Linked DNA regions of Homo sapiens: region 2 is linked to region 1. The links are contacts of gene promoters, found by promoter capture Hi-C in blood cells and fetal thymus (Javierre and others, 2016). All regions are on one chromosome and are shown on one strand. The core of a region is centred on a gene start or on the middle of the fragment in contact, and the rest is flanking DNA. Distances in the headings are between cores, read along the strand shown. Region 1 holds the start of CFH (complement factor H). Region 2 holds the start of F13B (coagulation factor XIII B chain).

Region 1 (6,215 bases), core at 361-2,860:
TTTTAATAATATTTCAAATTCAACTTTTTAATAACTTAAACTGTTTATTAAACTTGCCATTGATTCTTGATTTTAAAGATTAGAAATAAAACAAATCTCCCTTATATGACAAATGGTATCTATGTAAAACTGGAGCAAACAGTATGTAGGTATGAAACGTTAGAAACATTCCCATAAATTTAGTAAGAAAAGACAGAAATATTTACACAAAGAAACAGAAAAAGATGTCTTTTACAATAGGTAATATTGACATTGTTCTGGAACTGTTTGTAAATACAAAAAGGTTTCATTTTAAAATACTAATTATAATATTTATATGTACAAGGAAATAATTGTTTTCTTCATTTAAAAAGTGGCTACATATAAAGTTTACAAGCCAAAGAACAAGCAATAACATTAGAAAATATAACTGAAAATAATTCAACCTTTCAAAAGGTATTAAACATATTTGAATATTTTTTAAATTACCAAAGTGTATAACTATAAGAATATATCTGCTTTTATTTTCTAGATTGGAAGACTGAAACAGAGATTTGTATTATTTGCTAATATTCTTCAGTTCCTAGAGGCTATGTAATGGTCACTCAATCAAAATTTCTTTACTAAGTGAAAAGATTTTAGAAATTATGAATAATATGTAATTCATTCAGTTTAAAAATGTTTACCAAATATCTATCACATAACTGGTTACCTATCAAAAACTAGGAAAGCAAACCTCCTCCAAGAATAAGCTTTTTAATCTATCAAGAAGCAGTGATATAATTAAATTTTATTATGAATCCAGAAATTGTCTTACTGAGGTCAGAAAAAAACTCCTACATTCATATTCACTACTCCAAAAGACTGCTCTTCAAGAATATATGTTATATACAACTACAGGAAAAAAATCTCTATTGAACAACTTAACTGTTACAAATATTGTATATTCAATTGGGTTTCAAATTTATATAATATTTTTATTCTGATAATACAAGTAATACTTGTCTACAAGAATTCTAAGGTCATGACAATATCAGTTGTAAATGATAAATGAATTTTTATTTAGGAAGAGTTAAAATCATATTTGAAATAAATCTAATCATTATGATTTGATGGCTTTTATTGACTATGTATATTCACATCCTTCTTAATGCTTTCACATAATACATTTTGGTTATACTCCTAAGCAAAAAAGTAAATTACATTTTATGATAATTACAAGGGAAATGATTATTCCAGATCATAGTTTTTCAGAAATGTTTATTAAAACATTTTATTCTATTTTATATTAAATATAATTATGATGAATATTTAGATATACCATTCAAATAAGGTTCTTACATTTTTTAAACTCAACAATGTCAAAAGCCACTCAATTGTCAAGTTACAGAATACTTAAGCACATTTTCTAAATCAAATTTTTATTACTCCTGTGAAAAGCATCATTAGCAAATGTTTCATAATACAGTTTTCAGAAAAGAGTCTCTTTTAATCTTACCTTCTGCTACACAAATAGCCCATAACATAAGGCAAATAATCTTTGCTAGAAGTCTCATTTTTTGGATCTTTTAAGAGGACATTTACCAGCTAACTCTGTTCACAACGTCCAGTTCTCCTCTTCCAAGAATTGTGATTAGTGCAGGAAAGAACTTGCTGCAAAAGGAAGTTGAAACTAGATGCTCCGCCTATCAGAAACTTTTGCAAAGTAAATAAAAAATCAACCACAAGCCACAAGCCCAGAAATGCCAGAAGTTAAACCCAATTCTCACTGCACTCCCACTAAATGTTAATGCTGTGACCGGCTCTTGGACTTTTTCTTATTAAGCTAGGGAAATTCTCCGTTGGAAAATGTTCATGTTCTTGGTATGTGCAAATCAGCAGCTGGTGATATCCTCTGGATTTCATAAACCCTTCAATTATTCAAACTCTATTCGGGTCTATTGTGTATAAACCTCAGAACAGGAAATAAGAGAAACTTTAAAAGAAATCACATACAAAACTTTGGTTTAGGCAATGTTTTCACAATCAGCACCCAGACAATGTGTACAAACTTTGCCAAGAATGCAGTGCTTGATGAATTTGGGGGTCTGCTTTTCTAGCAATTTATGAAATTAGTTTTCTAAATACTTTTTGTATATGTGTATGAAGCAACTGGCTCACTCTCATTTGACGTAAATAGGTTTAATAATCCAAAAATCAACAAATTGAAATGCTGATTTTTAAAACTTTGTATTGTAGTGTAATATGTATAAGGAAAACATAAATCATATGCTGGATATTGAGAAGGTAAAGATACCTGTGAAACCACCACCAAGGTCAAAACACTGAACATTATTACATCCCAGAAAACCCCAGTACTCCTTTTCAGTCAATACGCCTCTCAACCCTCTCCCACACCCCCCACACACAGAGACCACGATTCTGATCTTCAAGAACATGGAATATATTTGTCTGGCTTTTGTACTTTGTATAATGAAAAAGAAGCAGTTTATTCTTATGTTTAGAGTTTTTCACCAAAAATTGTGTTTGGACCATTCAAACACATTGTTAGATGTAGTTACAGATAGTTCATTCTTATTGCGATTTAATACTCCACTTTTTGAATAGTTCACATTTTATTTATCTGTGTGCCTGTTAGTGAGCATTTGAGCAGATTTTAGTTTGGAGCTGGTATGAATAGTGCTGCTATGGGCCTTATATTATGAGGTTTTTGGTAAACACAATCCACATTTCTGGTAAGTGCATACTTGGTAGTGAAACACTGGGACATAATTTATGTTTAGGTGTAATGGATAAAATTAGACAATTTTCCAAATGGATTATAACACTTGACATCACTTGACATTTCTATCAGCAGTGTCCAAGTTGCTCCATACCCTCAGAGATACTTGGTAATTTTAATCCTTGTAATTTTAGCTTTTCTGGTAACACAAAGCAATAATTCTCCGTGGTTATAATATGAATTTTCCTGATGACTAATTGAAATGTGAGAGATCCCTGATTCCCCTTGAAGGACATGCAACAGGTGTGCGGCTTGCCAGTTAGGTCGCCCTGCAGCTCAAACCCCTTACGGGGAGGGGGAGCACACAGATGCACCGGTGCGGGAACCGGAGTGAGCGCTTTCGGGCTCTGGCCTCACAGCAGCATCTAGGGGTGGGTGTCTGCGATTTCCGAAGCCCAAGTGGGCGTATGTTACAGTGTGCTCCTTTAGCTTTGCCATCTGCAAATGGTTTATGTGTTAATCAGCTCAACAAACCCTCTTCCTTATCTCATGGGTAGTGGGACAGTGAAATAGCCCTCTATATCCCCAGCTGTTGCCCAGTGTCCCAAAAGAATCGGATCACACGGGGGCTCGAGGGATGAGGGCAACTTTTTATTGAGTGGTGGAGGTGGCTGTCAGCAAGATGGAGTGGGAAGGTGACCTTCGCCCAGTGTCAGGCCTCCCAGTGGCCAGACTCTTCTCCACCCGTCCCTGGCCAAACTCCCCTCGGAGTCCAGATGTCCCTCCTCTCTTTCTCTGCTGTGTCATTCTGCCATCGCAGGCCTGTTTGTCGGCTTGCCTCTCCGTCTCCTCACTTGTAGGTCTCTTCTGGAGCTTGGAGTTTGGGATTTATATGGGGGTACGACAGCGGGGCATGGCGGGCCAAAAGGCAACTTTTTGGGTGTGAAACCTGAAATGCCTGTCCTCATTTAGGGCCACAGGTCTTCAGGCTTGAGGGTGGGGCCTTTGCTTGGGGACCACCCTCTTCTACCCAGTATTTCCCTGTCTCCTGCCCTTAACATGAAGTTGAGAAACTTTCCTGTGGTAACTGGTCATTTAGATACCCTCTTTGGTAAAGGTTCTATTCAAATCCTTTGCATATTTTTTTCTTATTGAGTTGTTTGTCTTTGACTTATTGGAGTGTAGGAACTGTTTATATATAATTACTTATATATTCTAGATATGAAAATAATCTTATTAATATGTATTATAAATACCTTCTTCCAGTCTGTGGGTTTTCTTTCTATTCAGTATTACATGTCTTTTATAATAATAAAAAGAATTCCTTAATTTTAAAATAGAGCAAATTTTCAATTTTTTTCTATGACTAGTGCATTATGTGTCCTATTTAATGAAAGCTTGCCTAGTCCTAGAACACAATGCTTTTCTTCTAAAAGAATTATTTTATCTTTCACATTTAAGACCTTTAGAACAACTGTAATTGTCTTTTGTGTATAGCATAATAAAAAGCTCCAGATGCATTTTTAAAATAGAGATATCCAATTGTTATAGCATTATTCAACGAAAGTATCATTCTTTCCTCTGTACTGACATGCTTTCACCTTTGTCATAAGTCAGGTGCTGGATATGTGTGGGTCTATATCACCAAGCTCTTCTTACTGTAATAGTTTATTTTTAAAACTTTTCTAAAGTGTAAATTTCTGGGAACTTTGGCTTTCTAGTTATCTTTTAAATTGATTTCTTTTTTAATTTCATATTCTAAATAATTACACTGTTTTAAAATTTGATGAGTCTTTCTTTATGGCCCATTATAGTCAAAATTCTACCTATGTCAGTAGGTCAAGTTTGTAATTTGTTAAAATCTTTTGTATTTTTATTATGTTTTTGTCTGATTATTCCATCAGATATTGAAAGGGTGTATTACATCTCCCATTATAAATGTGGATTTGTGTATTTCCCTGTTTAATGCTGTGAATCTTTATATATTTTAGGGCTATGATGATGCTTGCATACGTATTTAGAATTGTGATATCCTTCTTTTGCATTGGTCATTTTCTCATATTAAATGGCCCACCCTAACTCTAATTTTGCTTCCAATGTGAATTTTACATTTTATTTTATTTTTATTTTTATTTTTGTAATAAAAATATAAGGAATAAGAGTTAGACTTAGTCATTTGTTCTGAGAAAAATAAGAAATAAAATAGCATGGATATATGAATAATCAAGCAAATTCGAATTCTGAACTATCATTCTGAAGTTTAATTTGATTTAACTGATAACACATATGTTGACATACTAGATCATTTAAACTTCTTCTTTATTCCTTCCTTAGTTTTATCTGTTTGAGTATGAATCCAAACATTTTACCTGGGGCTTAAATTTCCAATAGTGGTTTCTATTCTAATAGCAATATTATCACTTGGAGAGTATTCCAGAAACTTACTAAGATTAATATTATTGAGTGTTAATTATATACCAGGCACAGATCTAAGCACATTTATTCAATACTTAATGCAACACAATGAAATGGGAGACTATTACTCTTTCAAAGGTATAGATGACTGAACTGAACCACAGAACATTTTAGCAACTCCCTTAAGGTCACAAGACATTGCTGGAGCCAGGTATCAAATCCAGTGGTCTGTGTTTAAAATATGTGTTTAAAAATATAGTAAAATATTCACATATGTACTCTAGTGTATGCTTCACATTTATTTATTTTACAATTATGCATATACTGTAAAAGTATTGAAGGTACACACACACATATATATGTTTGTGGATAATTTAAAGTACATACAGGAATGATTTTGCTATACAAATCTTCACCTAATTTGCAATTGTTGAATGTAAAATGCCACTCTACTATCCAAGTAGAAATAATCCTCTTGAATTAATTTCAACAAATATCTTTCAGATGTATTATTTTTACTATTTTTTCTTTATCCTACCTTTTTTCAAAGACTGATGGCTAACGTCAATTGAGTGTTTTTGTTTCCCTTTTTTCATCAATACTTTTCAAAACTACAAAAGTCTATTATAAAGAAATTCAGAACATAAGAAAATTAGCAACATATTATGCCTTAAACTCATAAAATTATTATGTAGTATTAGATTACCATTAGAAAGACCAGATAGTAAATAGTTAACTATTAATACTAAGATTAAACATGAAATGGATCCAATTTATTTTCAATATTCATGTTGGCACATTCTCAGCAAATACATACTATGTATATTTGGACATTAAAAATTTAGAAGAGTAAGGATATAAATTTGTATTAGAGAAAAATCCATATTTAAAAAATTAGAAATAGTTAATATCTATGCTAAGTAACAAATGACTGTTATGATTAAAATTTTCGAAGGAAGTTTACAAGAAAGAGAAATTACTGAACACTGGTTTTGATCAGGGATGATTTTAAGAACACTTGGATATTACACTGTAGTTTAAGGGAAGAGTACCACTGAGACTGTGAAGAATAGGAAAGTGTGGGGACTAATCTAGAATT
Region 2 (6,255 bases), core at 3,702-6,201, 420 kb before region 1:
CTGTCTTGGTGACATATCTAGTGCAGTGGTATATTGAAGTCCCCCACTAGTATTGTGTTGCTGTCTGTCTCATTTCTTAGGTCTAGTAGTAATTGTTTTATAAATTTGGGAGTTCCAGTGTTAGGTACATGTATAATTAAGATTGTGATATTTTCCTGTTGGACAAGGCCTTTTATCATTATATAATGTCCTTCTTTGTCTTTCTTAACTGCTGTTGCTTTGAAGTTTGTTTTGTCTGATATAAGAATAGCTACTCCTGCTCACTTTTGGTGTCCATTTGCATGGGGTGTCTTTTTTCACCCCTTTACCTTAAGTTTATGTGAGTCCATATGTGTTAGGTGAGTCTCTTAAAGGCAGCAGATAGTTGGTTGGTGAATTCTTACCCATTCTGCAATTCTGTATCTTTTAAGTGGAACATTTAGGCCATTTACATTCAACATTAGTATTGAAATGTGAGGTACCATTCCATTCATCATGCTATTTGTTGCCTGAATACCTTGATTTTATTTATTTAAGTATTTATTTATTTACTGTATTTTTGTTTTATGGGTCCTGTGAGGTTCATGCTTTAATGAAGCTCTGTTTTGTTGTGTTTCCAGGATTTGTTTCAAGATTTAGAGCTCTTTTCAGCAGTTCTTGTAGTGCTGGCTTGGTAGTGGCAAATTCTCTCAGCATTTGTTTGTCTAAAAAAGACTGTATCTTTCCTTCATTTATGAAGCCTAGCTTTTCTGGATACAAAATTCTTAGCTGATAATTATTTTTTTTAAGGAGGCTGAAGATAGGTCCCCAATCCCTTCTAGCTTATAGGATTTCTGCTTAGAAATCTGCTGTGAATCTGATAGGTTTTCTTTTGTATGTTACCTGGTGCTTTTGCCTCACAGCTCTTAAGATTCTTTCGTCTTGACTTCAGATAAACTGATGACTATGTGCCTAGGTGAAGATTTATTTATTTATTTATTTTGAGATGGTGTCTCGCTCTGCTGCCAGGCTGGAGTGCAGTGGCGCGATCTCAGCTCACTGCAACCTCTGCCTCCTGGCTTCAAGTGATTCTCTTGCCTCAGCCTCCTGAGTAGCTAGGACTACAGGCATGGCACCACGCCCAGCTAATTTTTGTATTTTTAGTAAAGATGGGGTTTCACCATGTTGGCCAAGACGGTCTTGATCTCTTGACCTCGTGATCTGCCCACCTCATCCTCCCAAAGTGTTGAGATTACAGGCATAAGCCACCACACTTAGCTGCAATAATCTTTTTTTTTTTTTTTTGAGATGGAGTCTTGCTCTGTCGCCAGGCTGGAGTGCAGTGGCACGATCTCAACTCACTGCAACCTCCACCTCTTGGGTTCAAGCAATTGCCGTGCATCAGCCTCCCACGTAGTTGGGGTTACAGGCATATGCCACCATGCCCAGCTAAATTTTTTTTTTTTTTTTGTATTTTAGTAGAGACAGGGTTTCACCATTTTGGCCAAGATGGTCTTGATTTCCTGACCTCATGATCCACCTCCCTCGGCCTCCCAAAGTGCTGGGATTACAGGCATGAGCCACTGTGCCCGGCCGTAATGATATTTTTATGATGATTTCCCAAGTGTTCTTTGAGCTTCTTGTGTATGGATGGCTAGATTTCTAGCAAGGCCAGGGAAGTTTTTTTTTTTCAATTATTTCCCTAAATATGTTTTCCAAATTTTCAGATTTTTCTTCTTCCTCAGGAACACCAATTATTCTTAGGTTTAGTCATTTAACATAATCCCAAACTTCTTGGAGGCTTTATTCACTTAAATTTTTTTCTTTGTCTTTTTTGGATTGGATTACTTCGAAAACCTTGTCTTCAAGCTCTGAAGTTCTTTCTTCTGCTTGTTTTATTATATTGCTGAGACTTTCCAGTACATTTTGCTTTTCTCTAAGTGTGTTCTTTATTTCTTGAAGTTGTGACTGTTTTTTATTTATGCTATCTATTTCACTGAAGATTTCTCCGCTCATATCTTGTGTCATTTTTTTGATATCCTTAAGTTGGATTTCACCTCTCTCTGGTGCCTCCTTGATTAGCTTAATAATCAAACTTCTGAATTCTTTTTCTGGCAGTTCAGGAATTTCTTCTTGGTTTGGATCCATTGCTGATGAGCTAGTGTGATTTTTGGGTGGTGTTAAAGAACCTTGTTTTGTCATAATACCAAAATTGTTTTTCTAGTTCCTTCTCTTTTGGGTAGGCTATGTCAGAGGGGAGATCTGGGGCTCAAGGCTGCTGTTCAGATTCTTTTGTCCCACGGGGTGCTCCCTTGATGTAGTATTCTCCCCCTTTTCCTAGGGATGTGACTTCCTGAGAGCCAAACTGTAGTGATTATTATTACTTTTCTGGATCTAGCCACCAGAAGGGCTACCAGGCTCTGGGCTGGTACTGGGGGTTGTCTGCATAGAGTCCTGTGATGTAAACTGTCTTCAGTTCTCTCAGTCATGGATACCAGCACCTGTTCCAGTAGAGGTGGCAGGGGAGTGAAAGGAACTCTGTGAGGGTCCTTAGTTGTAGTTGTTTGATGCACTAGTTTGGTGCTGGTTGGCCTCCTGCTGAGAGGTGAAGCCAGCTGGACTTCCTGGGTCGAATGGGGACTTGGAGAACTTTTCTGTCTAGCTAAAGGATTGTAAACACACCAATCAGCGCTCTGTGTCTAGCTAAAGGTTTGTAAATGCACCAATCAGCACTTTGTAAAAACAGACCAACCAGCACTCTGTAAAATGTGCCAATCAGCGGGATGTGGGCGGAGCCAAATAAGGGAATAAAAGCTGGCCACCCGAGCCAGCCGCAGCAACCTGGTCTGGTCCCCTTCCAGGCTGTGGAAACTTTGTTCTTTCGCTCTTTGCAATAAATCTTGCTGCTGCTCTCTTTTTGGGTCTGCACTACCTTTATGAGCTGTAACACTCACCGCGAAGGTCTGTGGCTTCACTCCTGAAGTCAGCAAGACCTCGAACCCACCAGGAGGAAGAAACAACTCCGGACGCACCATCTTTTAGAGCTGTAACACTCACTGTGAAGGTCTGCGGCTTCACTCCTGAAGTCAGCAAGACCAGGAACCCACCAGAAGGAAGAAACTCTGGACACATCTGAACATCAGAGGAACAAACTCCGGACACACCATCTTTAAAAACTGTAATGCTCACCGCAAGCGTCCGCAGCTTCATTCTTGAAGTCAGCAAGACCAAGAACCCATTGGAAGGAACCAATTCCAGACACACTGCCATGAGGTAGTGCTTTCATGAGAGCATCAGCTGTGGTATATAGGGGAGGATCAGGTGGTGGGTGGGACACTAGAACTTCCAAGAGAATATGACCTTTGTCTTCAGCTACCAGGGTGGGTAGGGAAGGACCATCAGGTGGGGGCAGGGTTAGGCATGTCTGAGCTCAGAGTCTTCTTGGGTGGGGCTTGTTGTGGCTCTGTGGGGAATGGGGGTGTGATTCCCAGGTTAATGGAGTTACCTTCCCAGGAGGATTATGGCTGCCTCTTCTGTGTCATGCAGGTTGTCAGGGAAGTGGGGGAAAGCTGGCAGTTACAGACCTCACCCAGCTCTCACACAACCCAACAAGCAAATCTCACTTCTACTGTGTTCCCCCAAAAAGCACCGAATTTGTTTCCAGGCAGTAGGGGAGCAGGATTGAGAACTTGCCCCAGGCTACTAGCCTCCCAGCTGAGAATGCAAGCCAGACTTTTGTGCCTCCCTACCTGTTAAGTCTGCACACCAGATTCACGCCCTTTCCTGAGTTCTGGACAGGAAAGTTTGTGTTCGGTTGGAATTGTTACTAAGTTCAGCTGGAGGTTTCCTTCTCCCTGTGGTCTTTTCCCAGTTCCTCCGGCAGCCCCTGTGAGACAAGTCAGAAATGGCTTCTCTGGGGACCCACAGAGACGATGGGGCTTTACCCTTTGCTTCCTCTACCCCTGTATTTCGCTCAGCTCTCTAAATTGTCTGAGCTCCAGGTAAGGTCAAATCCTTCTCCTGTGATCTAGACCTTCAGGTTCCCCAAGGGTGTGTGTTCAGGGGTGGACAATACCCCTTTCACACTTTTCACAGTTTGGGCATTCACAGTATGTGGGCTATTTTCTGGGTCATGCAGGAGCAATATACTTTCTTCAGAGGGTCTGTGGATTATCTTGGCTTTCCTGTTATATCCTTGCAGCAGTTCTTGGAGCAAAAGTTCACAATGCGAGTCTCCACATCCTGCTCTGTCCATCCAAGTGGGAGCTGCAAGTTAGTCCTGCCTCCTATCCACCATTTTTTCCTATTTTGTATTTTAAATTAAAACTCATTAGAATGTAAACTCCATGAGGGCAATAATTTTAATCCAGTTTTTTCACTGCTAAATACCTCAAAACTGTTACATGTGCTGCCATTATCATGGACGTTCTAAACATTTCTCATGAATGAATGTTGATATAGCACAGTGCTGATCTCACCACCTGCCACAAAGTAAAAACTCTCTAAATGTCAAACACTACTATTATAAGTAATACTATTCTATCATTGAGACAACTATGGTTCTGTATCTCTTTAAGGAGTGCAGTCTAGGCAACAACATATTTCAACATCAGGTATCTGTTATCTCATGTTCCTAAGTTCATCTTTTTACCTGATCAATATTAGTAAAGATCTATGGCCTCAAGTGAACTTTACTCTATGAATTTACAATTGGGAACTTAGGTTGAAAATTTACCTAGTATTATTTATTCTGCTGCTATAATTTATTATTTATTCTGCTGCTATTGTTGCCCTAATCAGTTATCATGCTCTTACTGGACTCTGACATGGTAAGTAATGTCAATTAATATAGTTGTGTTATTTTAACATTATTTCAAAATATTTTAAGTGAAATATAAGACTCGTTACAAAAGGACTTAGACAGAGGTTATAAATTATTAACTTTTTCCTCAAGAGAAGTATTGTGTACTTAATGACAAGTTCCTAGTGCTTAGAATTGTTAAAATCTTTGTGAAGCACACCACTGAAGATGAGGTTGAAAAACCTGACTTTTATCATCATATTGATAATCTCAGGAGAACTCTATGCAGAAGGTAAAATTAATTCTTAATATTCTTTATTCTCTAAAACATACAAATGGAGATTCTAATATTTATACAACTCAAGTTTTAATATACTCTTCTATTTTCATTATCAATTTTATAACATATTTTATAAATATAACTTTTTATAATATTTAGACCTTTTCCTTTGAGCAAAATTAGTAAAGTGTTCTTACAGTAGCATAAGTCAGAAAAGCAAAACAAAACAAAAACCCTTGTATCTCTAGGGGGCATAGGAGACCAGGATCTAAATACTTCGAAAAGGTTTTCAGGTTAACAATATGTCCATTTCGAAGTCACATGTTAACTTTAATTCTAAATTTATGCTAGAATCCATTCCTAATACTGACAAAACTTGTACAATTTTAATTCTGTTCATAAGGTGAGAGTTTAATGTGGGAAATTTGAAAAGGAAATAGCCATAAATATTTTTTACTTTTGAGACTTTGATTTTTATCACAATGAATTATTCATTTGTTGGAGACATTAAGTAGTGATTAGTAGGTGAACCATATAATTGCTTGTACAAACAGGGACACTTAGAGAGTAAAAGAGGGGCTCTATTAATAACTGTTTGGACAACACATGTAAATCAGGACTTTCCAAACAAACCAATACCTATGGACTCCCTATTAGAAAGCTTTATAGTCAGATTGCCCAATGTGTAAGATTAGTGTGCGAGTGGAAGCTAGGCAGTGTACATGGGTATGTTGTTCAGGAACATTATCAATATTATCAGGCCATAGGATGAAGAATCCAGGGAGGACACTTAGCATTAGCAAGAGTGAACATACAAAGAAGGAAGCTACAGCAATACAGCTTTTCTAAAATAAACATTTTTGGGAATTTGTTGAAATTAAATACATAAGTTTTAACTGTGTTTTAGTTGAATAGTTAACTATAAATTTTCTACCAAAACATCTATAATTAAAATTATAAAAGTGAAAGACACAGAATTAATCTTATTTTATACTTTTAATTCTATAATAGGATGATTTTTGCATGAATTTCTTTTGATTTTATTTTTCTGTCTAAATAGGGAAATACCAGCAGATATAATTGTCTGTTATCTATACCATAAAGACATTGCAATATTCTAGTTAATTTTCTAATTATTATAAGGTTATAATGCTATTTTACACAACAAAAAAAAAAGTAAGCTGCTTGAAGACCAAGACAATGATTTTATTTTTGC

Evidence for each region. Contacts are between HindIII fragments. The CHiCAGO score rates a contact against its expected background, and 5 or more counts as called.
Region 2: a contact is called between the fragment with the promoter of F13B here and the fragment with the promoter of CFH in region 1, in 5 of 17 cell types (naive CD8 T cells, neutrophils, M2 macrophages and 2 more). The highest score is 10.8, in naive CD8 T cells.

What each region holds. Positions count from the first base shown.
Region 1 is chr1:196,647,438-196,653,652 of GRCh38, reverse strand. CFH (complement factor H) reads right to left here and starts at 1,610. Exons shown (of 22, transcript NM_000186.4): 1 at 1,478-1,610. The coding sequence starts at 1,535. The HindIII fragment of the contact is 3,367 bases long and covers 734-4,100 here.
Region 2 is chr1:197,065,956-197,072,210 of GRCh38, reverse strand. It overlaps F13B (coagulation factor XIII B chain), which reads left to right and starts at 4,951. Exons shown (of 12, transcript NM_001994.3): 1 at 4,951-5,051. The coding sequence starts at 4,988. RefSeq lists an enhancer at 2,644-3,843. The HindIII fragment of the contact is 18,133 bases long and covers 1-5,702 here.